Regions from separate parts of the Homo sapiens genome. Here region 1 is linked to region 2. The links are contacts of gene promoters, found by promoter capture Hi-C in human tissues and cell types (Jung and others, 2019). All regions are on one chromosome and are shown on one strand. Each heading gives the region's core, a stretch centred on a gene start or on the middle of the fragment in contact. The rest is flanking DNA. Distances are from core to core; before and after follow the strand shown. Region 1 holds the start of LOC107986650 (a long non-coding RNA gene). Region 2 holds the start of REPS1 (RALBP1 associated Eps domain containing 1).

Region 1 (6,898 bases), core at 999-3,498, 94 kb before region 2:
CTGTTCTTGCACGTTGTCTACTTTTTCCATTAAAGCCCTTAACATATTAATCATATTTAAGTTTCTGCTCTGATAATTCCAAAATCTCTACTATATCTGAGCCTAGTTTTGATGCTTGCCCTGTCTCTTCAGTCTGTGTATTTTGCCTCTTAGTACCCCTTATAATTTTTTTGAAACAGAGTGTGTCACTCTGTCACCCAGGCTGGAGTGCAGTGGTGCAATCTAGGCTCACTGCAGCCTCTGCCTCCTGGGTTCCAGCAATTCTCCTGCCTCAGGCTTCTAGGTAGCTGGGATTACAGGCACGTGCCACCACGTCTGGCTAATTTTTGTATTTTTAGTAGAGATGGGATTCACCACATTGGCTAGGCTGGTCTCGAACTCCTGACCTTAGGTGATCTGCCCACCTTGGCTTCTCAAAGTGCTAGGATTAAAGGAGTGAGCCACCATGCCCAGCCAGCACCGCTTATAACTTTTTGTTGAATAGCAGACACGATGTGTCAGGTAAAAGGAACTAAACAGGTCTTCAGTGTGAAGTTTTATGTTTACCTGGCTGGGAGTTAGGTCATATTAACTGTTTGTTGCAGCTTGGCATCAGAGGCTACAGTTTTCTCCAGTGTCCTTTTCTCTCCCTATCATCTTTGGGTTTCCTTAGAGACCCCTTCTTAAATAGGGTCTGAGCCTTACAGTTATTTTAGCTGTAATCCCATTATTATACCAGAGCCCTACTGCTGTGGTAGTTAAGATGTCAGAGGAGAAACATTCTATAGTTCTATGATCAATTTTGAGTCTGTTACTTCTGGACTGTGACCTTCACAAGTGCTTCTCAGTTTTTTTTTGTTTTTTTTTTGTTTTTTTTTGTTTTTTTTTCCCCACCTCTAACATGAGACGTAAGGTTAGAGGTGGCTGGAGTTGGGTATTTCCCTTCTCCCAGGTTGATTAGGCACTGGTAAAGTCCCAGTTGGTTAGGTTCTAGTACAAGTTTCCCTTGAGGTCAGGCCTTTGTTAAGAACAAAATATTCTGGGCATATTTCAAAATGGTACTTTTCTCCTCTCCACCATGTAAGAATATATATATATTTTTTTATTTTTATTTTTTTTTGTGAGACAAGGTCTCACTCTTTCACCCAGACTGGAATGCAGTGGCCTGAGCTCGGCTCACCACAACCTCTGCCTCTCAGGCTCAAGGGATTCTCCCGCCTCAGCCTCCTGAGTAGCTGGGATTACAGGTGCACGCTGTTACTGCTCGGCTAATTTTTGTATTTTTAGTAGAGACGGGGTTTTACCATGTTGGCCAGGCTGGTCTCGAACTCCTGACCTCAAATGATCCATCTGCCTTGGCCTCCCGAAGTGCTGTGATTACAGGCGTGAGCCACCGCACCCAGCCAGAATAAGGAAATTTTTATTAGCTCTTCATTGCAAGAATCTGGCAGGCTCCTAGAGGCAAAACTCACACCATTGTGTGAGCCCAGAGTTATTAAATGCTAAAGCTAGTCCACACTTTATCTCTAGTAATTAAGCCAATACCCTTCAAGCATCCCTACTCCATGCAGGCAATTTCTGTTTCTGATAAGCTTTGATTCTCTGTAGCAGCCTATCATTCCAGCTTTTGGGGTGATAACTTCAATTCTATAAAGGATCGGAAAAAAGCTGTTGATTCTGAGTTCTTCAGCTTTTTGTTGTTGTTGTGAGGACAGAATTACCAACTTCCAAGCTCTTTCTTTTTAATTATTATTTTTTTGAGACGGAGTCTCACTCTGTTGCCAGGCTGGAGTGCAGTGGCGCAATCTCAGCTCACTGCAACCTCCACCTCCCAGGTTCAAGCGATTCTCCTGCCTCAGCCTCCCAAGTAGCTGGGATTACAGGCACACGCCACCACACCCAGCTAAGTTTTGTATTTTTAGTAGAGATGGGGTTTCACCATGTTGGCCAGGATGGTCTCAATCTCTTGACCTTGTGACCCACCCGCCTCAGCCTCCCAAAGTGCTGGGATTACAGGAGTGAGCCACCACACCCGGCCTACAACTTCCAAGCTCTTTACATGTGGACTGGAAGCTGGAGGTCTAATTATCAGAAATTAGACTTTGGTCTACAGTACTTGGACAAATGAAAATACTTTGAAGATTTAGGATAATCCAAAATCATTTTATGCTCTAATTGTGAGGTACATTTATATTTAAATAGGCACTACTCTGAGCTATGAGGTATGAGGTATGAAAAATTTACCAGGCCCAGAGACATGAGTATGGGACTTCAGTCACACCTCCCCATCCATGCTTGCCTAGGGCAATTGTTCCTGGGCTGCCTCACCCATTATCTTCACATACTGGAAATTGTAGACAAAGAACAATTATGGTCAATCAATAGCTTGTGCTATTTTAGTATAAAATCTTGGTAACTCTGGAACTGCCTCTTCTTTTTCTTTAAAAATCCACTTGTAAATGCTACTAATTGGGGTGTATATTCCTGGTAACTGAATCTATGCTCCAGGGTTGCAGTCCCCAAGCTTAGCCCAAATAAACTCTACTTATATTGATTTTGCCTCAGCTTCTTCCTTTTAGGTCAACGACACTGTCTCAGTGATTACATTTATATTATTTGCTAATAAATTTAAATGTAATTTCAAATTAATATTTGAAATTGACTGGGTGTGGTGGCTCATTCCCGTAATCCCAGCACTTTGGGAAGCTGAGGTGGGAGGATCACTTGAGGCCAGGAGTTCTAGACCAGCCTAGGCAACATAGTTGGACCCCGTCTCTACAGGGGAAAAAAAAACGTTTTGAAATTAGGTAAATGCAAAAAGATATCACACAATACTTAGCCTGCAACCTTGTTTTCTGTCATTTTAGAAAATCACATAAAACCCAAGGAATGCCATCCCCATGATTTCTACCAGGAATTTTTACTTAGAGGAAACATACTCTGCTTGTATTTATACATACAGTACCAACTCATATAAGGCTTTACTCTTTACCATATATGTTAGCTTCTCTCATTTGATAGATTTAATTACAATTACCTGATGAGGCAGGTAGGACAGGAACCACGTTATGGGTGGGCAATCTGGCTTAAGTTGCCTAAAGTCATAGAATAAGTGCTGGTCTGGAATTTAGAACCAGGTCTCCCAGTGCACAGGCAGTGCCGTTTCCAGTGATTGGACCAGAAGGTAGAAAGGTGAACCAAGCCTTCCTCATAATAATCTCACTAACATAGTAACAATTACTAAACATATATATATATATTTTTCTTTTTCTGAGACAGAGTCTCGTTCTGTTGCCCAGGCTGGAGTGCAGTGGTGTGATCTCGGCTCACTGCAACCTCTGCCTCCGGGGTTCAAGCGATTCTCATGCCTCAGCCTCCCAAAAAAGCTTGAAGTACAGGGGCGTGCCACCACTCCCAGCTAATTTTTTTGTATTTTTAGTAGAGATGGGTTTCACCATGTTGGCCAGGCTCATCTTGAACTCCTGGCCTCAAGTGATCCACCCATCCTGGCCATGTGTGAGCCACTGCACCTGGCCACAAATAACAAACAATAACTATGACACAAAAAGAACGAGTAAGTGTTTGCATCCTAAATGAAATTTAAAATAGAGATGAAGTCACACAGTTATTTTAAGAGCTGGGAAATTCAGAGGGCAATTTGTTCCTCTGAGGACATGGACCATTATTTTGGGTATGTTAAGCTTTTAGAATATATTTTGTACCTTGGAACTTCTGTATTATCGTTTTTTTCATAAACACTGATTTTCATTGCTGAATTTTTTTTTTTTTTTCCTTAATGAGATGGGGTCCTCCCATGCTGGCCAGGCTGGTCTTGAATTCCTTGGCTCAGATGATCCTCCCAACTCGGCCTCCCAAAGTACTGGGATTACAGGCGTGAGCCACTGCACGTGGCCAAAGCTTACTGATTTTTAAGCATGCTTTTTTTCTTCCAATGGAGTCTTGCCAAAGGTCTATTCACCAGTGCAGGACTGGTGAATAGAGGCCTGGCCTTGTTCATCAAATAGAGCCATCCACTTCCCAGGCCAATTTTCCTTGGGGAAATATCCTATTATACTGCCAAAAAGATACACTGTAAACTTTCCTCTTAGCTTTCCCCAAAGGGATCTACAGTCACTTAGCAGGGTAACTATGCAACAGAGAAAATGTACCCAGGCTTCTCAAGGATACTAGACTTTGGTCCAGAATTGACTCATTTTGGGGACCCCAAACGCCACTGTGATCCACCAGGCTAGGTGATAATCAGTTTTGACTCAGGTCAGCTCACAGTGGTGCTGATGACCTGCTGTTGTCCATGTACTGAAACTCTCCATGTACTGAAACTCTCTTTTTGAGAGAGTTTCATTCTTGTTGCCCAGGCTGGAGTGCAATGGCGTGATCTCGGCTCACTGCAACCTCCGCCTCCTGGGTTCAAGCGATTCTCCTGCCTCAGCCTCCCAAGTAGCTGGGACTATAGGTGTGCACCACCACACCTGGCTCATTTTTGTATTTTTAGTAGAGACGGGGTTTCGCCATGTTGGCCAGGCTAGTCTCAAACTCCTGACTCTGTGATCTGCCCACCTCGGCCTCCCAAAGTGCTGGGATTACAGGTGTGAGCCACCGCACCTGGCCTAAAACTTTCTTTTAAAGTTTTATGTATTTATACAAGTTGGGTACTTCCTGCCTTTCTCTGTGTCTCTTGTGCTGGCTAATACAGTAGTTTAACAACAATAACAAAACACTTCTAGAATGGAGTTAAGAATGTACATTATAGTAGCTGTGTTCCATTTTGCTGAATCACTGAATCTATCTGTAAATAAGCAAAGAAACTCTATTCAAGTTCAGAACAAAACCCACCATTGGAGTTGGTTCTGAGTGTGAGCAGAGGCAGATTTCTGAAACACTAGGAGCCACTGCAGCTGCTCCATTATGTCAATACTAAAGATGAAATTACAGCCATATCTGCAGGCCCCACACCCATGGGTTCAACTGAGGATGGAAAACATTAAAAAATAAATAAATACAATTAAAAAAACAAATAAAAACCTCATACAGTATAAGTATTCACATAGTGTTTACATTGTATTAGATATCATAAGTAACCTAGAGAGAATATGCAGATTATATGCAAATACCAAGCATCCTCAGATTTTGGTTTTCGCAGGAGGTCCTGGAACACATTCCCCATGGATATCAAGGGATGACTGTATCTGCTTTTGCGTATTTAGTTTAACCGTATTTACGGTTAAACTTTTAGAGTTTTTGGTGTTTGGTCTGTGGATAAACATTGTTGGAGATCTTGAGGGGCTTAATTTAGTAAATGGCTTTTGAAAAGTTTTTCTAGATAAAAATTATATATAAAATAGCCCTCTCAGAATCAGACTGAAATAATAACCTCATTGTGTGTTTCTTTCCCTCACTCATGTCCTTGGATTACGAAAGGCTCAATTCTAAGCTCAAGTTAGTGTGGCTGCTCCATCCCTTCCCTGGGCCAACCATCCACCTGGTCCAAGTGGGTCACAAAACTGGAATTCTCTTTCATTCACCTCTAATATCGGCATTGTCCCTTCCAAAGGAAAAAACTGAACATCAATTTACCAAAGCAAGTACCTCTTTGAATGCTGCTTCTTCAAAGCACTCTGTTGGCATATTTCCTGATAATTCGGATACAGCAGTTTTATTACAGATTTAAACAGTTTCTAAACTTCTATGATAGGAGAAATAATTGTTCTTATCATGGATATGGTAAAAAAAAAAAATTGCTCCCCTTCTCCCCCAAAAAAGCAAGACCATGGTAGAATTCTTTTGCCTATTCAAAATGGCTACTCACCACAGACTGCCCATCACAGACTTAAAATGCACCTCCTGCCTTTCTTGCTTCCTCTCTCCCTCATCCTTAGTTCTATTCATTCCTTTATTCTCAGAATAACCTATTGACTCGATCTAGAAATATTTTTTGCAAGGTATCAGTAAATGTGAAGCACCCCACTCCTTCCAGCCTAAATCATAACCAAAGACAAGAAGAAAATGTTTGAAAGAAAGAGCTAGCTCTAGTGGCTGGGTGACCACTATGTTTCCATTGACCCACACACCTAAAACAACTCCTACTTCCTAACGCTGTCCAAGTAGCTGAACCTGAAACATGGTACTCTTGGACATTTTTAAACTACCTGGTCCAGTCCTTTGCCCAGTTCTTAGGCATAGCTGTAACTAATAAATGACTGAAGTGCCTTGCTCCTTGAAGTGTGGCCTGCAGATCTGTGGACTCAGCATCACCAGAGAGCTTGCCAGAAATGCAGAATTCTCAGGCCACCCTAGCTCTACTCAATCAGAATTTGCATTTTAACAAAATCACCAGGTAAATCAGAAGCAAATTAAAGCCATTACCATATAAAGTGAGTTATAAATATGAATTATAGCAGCTTTTATGAAGAACAACCTGGAGGTCTTTGATAAAAATATACACAGCAGTCCCCCCTTATCCATGAGAATACCTTTCAAGACCCCCAGTAGATGGCTGAAACCTCAGAGTACTGATCCCTATAACATCACGTTTTTTGATATACATACATACTTATGATAAAGTTTAGTTTAAAAATTAGGTACCATAAGAGATTAACAATATTTAATAAAATAGAACAATTATAATGACATAAAGTGGTAACAGTTATGTAAAGGTTTATCTGAAGAAAGGGAAACCATAAATAAGGGGGGACTATTGTGTAGCCTTTGACCAATCCGTCCTACTCTCAGGAATTGTATCTGACAGAAGAACAAATATTAGGACTTTGTTTCTATGTAAGAAATCGTTTGTTGCAACATTCACAGTGGCAATACAGAAAAAAAAAAATGAAGTAAGAGAGAGAGGGAGGGAAAAAAAGGAGGGGACCCAAGCCTCTAAACAAAGCAAATGTCCATCAAA
Region 2 (7,024 bases), core at 3,646-6,145:
GGCAGAAGAATCGCTTGAGCCTGGGAGGTGGAGGTTGCAGTGAGCCGAGATTGCACCACTGCACTCCAGCCTGGGCAACAGAGCGAGAGACTGTCTCAAAAAATAAAAATAAAAATAAAAATAAACAAGAATAACACCCACTTCACAAGGTTGTTGCAAGAATCAAATGAGTTCTTCCATGAAAATGATTTGCCTGGTTAAAGGAACATAATAGGCACTCGATAAATGCCAGCTCCTTCCTCGTTTGGTTCTGGACTCGGTGTTATTTGTTCTCTACACTCATGCCCCCAGATGACTCAGTCTCCTCCTAACTTTTACTAACAAACACCGAAAACTACTGTACCAACCAAGGTCCTGATATGTATGTGCATGCCCAGTCTATGTGACACTGTCTCCCGTCCCTAAACACTTAGGTGAGCAAAACAGAGGAAGAAATCCCGAACCTCTGAACCTGAACTGCTGTAAGAACCAGCAGTTGGGGTGGACAAATCTCCACCCACTTCCCACTGTCTCCAAGAGATCTGAATTGCCATCTAAGAATGTCTGAAACCAAACTCATCATTGTCTCTTTTAAAAAGTAAGCCCTCTTCCTGCCCCTTTTCTAACTGTGAGTGGTGTCCAAAGAATAATCCTTGCCCCACTGTATTCTCACCAAAACACTGCCAAATAACCCAGGCCTATCACGTTTACCTTCATAATCTCTACCATCTCTCTCTCTCTCTTTTTTTTTTTTTTTTTTTGAGACAGCGTCTTGCTCTGTCATCTAGGCTGGAGTGCAGTGGCGCGATCTTGGCTCACTGCAACCTCCTCCTCCTCCCAGGTTCTAAGTGATTCTCCTGCCTCAGCCTCTGGAGTAGCTGGGATTACAGGCATGCGCCACCACATGCGGCTAATTTTGTATTTTTAGTACAGAAAGGGTTTCACCATGTTGGCCAGGTTGGTCTCCAACTCCTGACCTCAGGTGATCCACCTGCCTCAGCCTCCCAAAGTGCTGGGATTACAGGCATGAGCCACTGTGCCCGGCCCATATCTGATTTTTTGTCCCACTCCCACCACTATAGTCCAGGTTAGGGTTTCTCAGTCTCAGCACTATTGACATCTTGGGCACATAATGCTTGTGGAGGCTGTCCTGTGCACTGCAGGATGTTTAGCAACATTTCTGGCCTCTACCCACTAGATGCCAGTAGAACTGCTCTCTCCCCTCTAGTTATGACAATCAAAATGTCTCTAGACACTGCCAAATGCCTCTTCCCCATTGTCACCTTCATTCCCATGTTTGAGTACCACTGGCCCAGTTTCTCACTTCGTATCTGCCATACAAAATCAGCCCCCAAGTTAAGTCTACAGTTTTATTCCTCTAATTCCTGTGGCCCTGACAAACGACTCCTAAAGCACTGCTTTATGAGTCATTTCTCTTAAATCTACCACTCCCTGTTACCTACACAATTAGTTCAAAGCTCTCCATCCAACCTTGATAATCTGGCCTCAATTAAACATTATTCCACAAAGCACCTCATATAGTGGCTACCCAGCAGTCCTTCAATAACATATCCAGTCTCTCCCTTTCTATTCTACTGCTGTCACCCTGGTTGGATGTCCATGACCTAGCACCCAATCCAGACCACTGAAAGAGTGTCATTCCTTACCCTTTCTGCCACTCAAAGTCAAAAACTTTTCAATGGGTCTCCATTGCTTGCTGAAATATCGTTATCTGCTGCCCTTCTTCAGAGTCTTTCCCAATATGGCCTCTTTCTAATTTTATATTCTGTTATCCCGAAAACACTAGTCCTTGAAAAGGCTCCTACACTTTCCACTTCTGATCACTTTTCTCTGCCTGGAAGCCCTCATAATTCCATTCCCCTCACTCCACCCTAATTTAAAGTCCATCTGAATTAAGTCAAAAAGCCTTTCTTGGTCATACCTCCTTAGCATTTCATAACACTTGGCACCTCTCCTATGGCATACATTATACCTTATGTTATACATGAGCACTCCTATAATTGACAAGATCCTCAAGAGCTTCTTACTCCTCTTCTGATGCCTGCAATGCCTAGCCCAGTGTTAAGTAGAGAACTAAGCATTAGATATGAGCTGCCCCAAATGTTTCCCACTTAGAAAGCAATGGAGGACTGTGTTTTCAGACAATCCCAAACTCCCTTAAGGGAATTAAGCACATATTCTCCTTTTGTCTCATATTTCTATGTCTTAGACCAATTTTTAAGTAAATTGCCTTCAAGATATCTAGACTGCTATTTAGTATACATAACTGTAAGAGTTCTGCTCCAGGGAGTTCCAACTTGTAACTGAACCCTGAATATTTAAGCTCTCTCTTTATGCCAAAAGACAATGGAAATTTATTTTTTGAATGTTAATAAAATTGAGCAAAACATAAAAATAACTTGCACTGAATTAAACATGTTTGAAGTAAAGATTCATTAATGCTAATGTGTCTGTCCTAAAAATTACATTTCAAGTTCTAAAGTCTTTGTGTACCCATTAAAAAGATTGAAAGTTTTATTTCAACTCTTTCTCACCTCAAAGACAAACTAAAATAGAACAGAGAAGGCTTTTCCTTAATTTTATTTAGATCCTAACTTGAAGGTATACTTTGTTATTTCTTCAAAAGGAGCAAAAAGAGTATGATTAATGAGCATGTTCTGACCAGATCTCTAAGTCCTACTCCAAAGCTGTAACAGGAGAGTACCATAGACCACACTACCAGCACCCTTCGTTAGCAGACCACAGGCTTTGTTTTGTATCTCCCTGAGCTAAGAATGGCTTTACATTTTTGTGTTTTGTAAACACAAGAAGAAGAATATGCAACAGAGAGCATATGTGGCCAGCAAAGCCCAAAATATTTACTATTTGTCCCTTTTCAACAGGATGAATTTGGGACTCCTCGTTGCCCTTCACTGGCACGTAAGACATCCCACCTTTAAAAAAGCAATGTAAAACACAAGACCATTTAAAAAGATCGAACTCGTTCAACTTAGTCATAGTTAATGCAGACTTAACTTCTAAAACAGAGACCTGTGTGTGGACATTTTTATTCTTCACAGAATTTTTGTTGGAAGAAACTTGCCTTCATTCTGTGGATGAACATACTTATGCTTGAAAATGGAAAGTGCCTGACCCAAAGTCACACTGCTGGTTAACAGCAGAGTAGGGTCAAGGACCCAGCCTTCAAAACCCTGGTCCAATGCTTTGCAGTCCACTACATACACCTATACATGTGGCTTTAAATTTTGGAGATGTGGATAACTAGCTTGGATCAATATAAAAGATGAAAGCTTAAAACCTGTTCCTAACATACTGTTTAGACAGACTCCTACTAGCAGCTATGAATCATTAAACAGAGTAGCATTAATGCTCACCACATACATTAGATAAGAACTTCTAGGAAGTCCTCTGTTTCAAAAGCAGATATGATAAAAAAAGGCTTTAAACCTACAGGGTTTGCTCCTCCAGGGCTTCAGATTAGGGCAAATAACGCACTTCTGCCTACCAGCTGTTCAATACTCATCTCCCAACCCAAATCCACAAGTTCCACAAATGCTTTCGAATGCCTGTTGAAAAACATTGTTCAGTCTCATCACATACACACGTTCTACAGATAATTACAACTTCTTGTATGCCTACTTGTAAAACTACTAAGTAGTTCACATTTTAAAAAATTTCCCTAAGAATTTTGCTTCCTTTAAAAAAACTGCTTCTTCGATTCCTAAATCTATAGAACTCACTTTATCACGTCTTCTCGGTTAATCCAAGAATTAAAAAAACCATTTTGCCCATACTGATAACTTTACTACTCTGCAGGATCCGAAAAGCTCTCTATATGCCAGGTTCTAGGATTCACACACATTAACAACCTAAGATCCTTCAAGTGAGATAGCTCTTGCAGTACAGAGCACAGATTCTCAGGGTCGTGGGGGATACCGGCTGAGGCTCTTCAGACCCCCACCACAGGAGTTCCGTCCTCTAAGGGCAACCCCCTCCCCCTTGGCCGCGGCGCGAGTCCAGGCCTCCCGGGCACCTGCGGCCCCTGCCCGCTGCGGGGACCCCCCGAGGAACCAGCCCCCCGCCGGGCCCCAAGGAATCGGCGCCCACTCCCACTCCTGGAGGCCAGTGACTGCAGGCCTAAGCCGCCCGCCGGCCCCGGGACGCGACGTTACCTGTAGGACCACGTCGTTCGGCAGCTGCGCGGCCCGGAACAGCTCCAGCACCCGCCCGTTGACCACCACCTTCTTGGTGCTCTCAATGTCGCAGTAGGAGAAGAGATCTGAATAGTATTTCTGCTCCGCATCGCTCAGCGTTAAGCCTTCCATCTTCGCCTCCGGCTCACGGCCGCCCCGCCCCGCATGCACTACTCGGGGCCCGGCCCCAGGAACCTGGGCCGGCAGGGGCTGCGCGTGGCCCGGCCTCCTGCTAGCTTCCCGAAAACGCCGGCCCCGGCCTCACACGCGCCAGGTGCGCCCGAGCAACAGGGCCCGGAGGTCGCGAGGAGGGGGCCCGGCTGCGCTCGCCGCGCCGCTGCCTGCGAGGCCCGGCGCGCGGCTGCGGCTGCGGCTGCGACTACGGCTCCGGCTCCGGCTCCGGCTCCGGCCGCGGGGAGGGTGCAGAGAAAGAGGCGGGGGCCGCGGAGGCGCGAGGCACTGGCGGACTCCGCCCCCGCCGCGGGTTCGAGTCTCCCCGGCTCCCTGCCGATTCCCCCAGACTTCCCGCCTCGGCTTCCCCTTCCGTCCACGCCTCCGGAGCGGCAGCGCTTCCCGGAAAGTTGTGGGGCTTCGAACCTAAAGTTTCGGGGGATCTGGGCTGAGCGTGGCCGCCGCTCCGCCTCCCTCCGCCGCCATTTACAGTGCCCCGGCCCGGCCCCGACGCGCCCGCACCAACAGTGACAGCGGCGGCCGCGCTCCAGACCCGGATGTGAGGCCGGGAGGAGAGAGCGCGAGAGGGAGAGAGAAACACCCACCGGGCTGGCTTGGCCGCTCCCGGGAGAGGGAGGAGGCCGCAGCGCCCCCTGGTGGCCGGCGCCCGGCGGCGGGATGACCGAGCCGCCCTCTGCGCGGAGATCTCAGCAGCAAGACCCCCGGAAAGGGGGGTGCAGTGGGAAACAGCCGGCAGCTCATTAAGACCGAGATAACTAAGATCCGGGTTGCAGTTTTTATGTTTCGCAGTTTCTGGTCCTAAGCGTCTGAATAATTGGATTGAAAGGGGAGCCTTGTTCAGGTTATTATCATTCTATCTGTACCTTTTCGGTACAGATGAAGATAAATGCAGTATTTCCATCTGTTCTGAAGGGCTATGAACATCCGGGCTATGAACATCCTGGCTATCCGGGAAGCCTCCACGTAGACACCAACATTGAGGCTTCATCTCACTCGTGCTTCAAGCCATGTTTACCTGAGAAACAAAATGTGCTGAATAGAGGGGAAAACTGGCAAAGTTGTCCTCTTTGTTCACCAGGTCATTCCGGTCACTGGGAACTTAATACTCTACATTTATACCTTCAACTCTATCAACTCATGTAGGCCCGGGGCTGCCCACAGGGGCTGCCTTCCGTATTTTCTCCTTTATGAAAATCATGGAGTGGCGCTCTTTTAATCTGCACCTGTCCCAGAGAGGGGATTCTTCAGCTATTTCAAGTAGAATATCTTAAGAATTTATACTTAGCAAATATAAAATACTTCAAAGACGGGAGCTAAGGCAGAATTACCCAGAGTTCTGGTTTTTATTTTGTCTTCTACAAGTTGTTTCCCAGAGTGCGGATCCTATAAATGACACATATGAGGAAATTATTACAGGTTCCCAGTCATTTATCTGTAATTGCAAAATTCAAAGCGCACTGAAAACCCAAAGACTTTTTTTTGTAACCCTTTGGAAGTAAAACCTGCCCTGCCTCATTTGGAGGCAAAATCTAAACTAAGCTTGCATGAAGCTATTTCTAGCCTTTATGGATCCCACTTAGTGTCAATATTTACTCATTTCACTCCAGGTCTTTGTAGAATGTTAATATGTACACAGTCACAGGCATTCTATTATCTTTCTATTTTTTAAGAAAGATAAGGGATTTTAGACCTGTCAATGTCTTCTGACTTGACTAGTAGTATTTGATAAAGGTAAGTATATACTATCCATTAAGCTTATTTCCCATCTCTAAGACTTTCAGTTTGCTACAGCAGCCCCTCATGTGTCCTTTCAGGGCACCTGCAGCAAGTGATCAGACCCCCCCCAGACAGCTGCCTTCCAAAGGTGTAAACAGAAAGAGCACAATGGGGTAGGGATTGGCTCACAATTGTCTTTGCATCTTTTTCTCTGCCACCTCTCCTAGGCCTTGCAGCTCTTGTCGGCCCCAGGGCCTTTGTTCCTGCCATCTAAAATAGTCCTTCCACAAACCATGGCATGGCGTATTCTCTCATATGGTTTCAGGTCCCTGCTCATATGTCACCTCCTCAGAGCAGCCTTCCTGCAACAGCTGCTGTAAAATAATCCCACCATGCACTATCCCCTTATCTGAATTCCTTTTTTTTCTCTTTTGAGACAGAGTCTCCCACTGTCACCCAGGCTGGAGTGCAGTGGCATAATCTTGGCTCACTGTAGCTTCGACCTCCCAGGCTCAGGTGATTCTCCCACCTCAGCCTCCCAGGTAGCTGGGACCACAGGCCCAGGCCACCATGCCCACCTAAATTTTGTGTATGTGGCTTTTGTAGAGACAGAGTTTTGCCATGTTACCCAGGCTGGTCTCAAACTCTTGGGCTCACCCACCTCAGCCTCCCAAAGCGCTGGGATTACAGGCATGAGCCACTGCACCCAACCTGAATTCTTTTTCTTTATAACACTTTTCACTATCTGACATTACATATATAGCTGTTACATTTTTAACGGCTAATTATTGAATAATTACTAAGTTTCAGGCATTGTTCTAAAGCTTTACACTAATAACCACATTATTCACAACAACCCTATTAAGTGGTACTACTAGGTTTTTTTTTTTTTTTGACAGATTAGGAAACTGAGGCAAAATGGG

The links. The method cuts DNA at HindIII sites, captures the fragments that hold promoters and counts their contacts. A contact is called where the count stands out against the background at its distance.
Region 1: a contact is called between a fragment that was not itself captured here and the fragment with the promoter of REPS1 in region 2, in 4 of the 25 tissues and cell types used here (H1 embryonic stem cells, IMR-90 fibroblasts, aorta and 1 more).

What each region holds. Positions count from the first base shown.
Region 1 is chr6:138,892,338-138,899,235 of GRCh38, forward strand. All of the region lies in intron 20 of ECT2L (epithelial cell transforming 2 like), which reads left to right. It overlaps LOC107986650 (a long non-coding RNA gene), which reads right to left and starts at 3,293. Exons shown (of 2, transcript XR_001744381.2): 1 at 3,017-3,293. The HindIII fragment of the contact is 3,079 bases long and covers 710-3,788 here.
Region 2 is chr6:138,983,358-138,990,381 of GRCh38, forward strand. It overlaps REPS1 (RALBP1 associated Eps domain containing 1), which reads right to left and starts at 4,896. Exons shown (of 20, transcript NM_001286611.2): 1 at 4,173-4,896. The coding sequence starts at 4,325. RefSeq lists silencers at 4,398-4,697, 4,888-5,127. The HindIII fragment of the contact is 5,323 bases long and covers 1,210-6,532 here.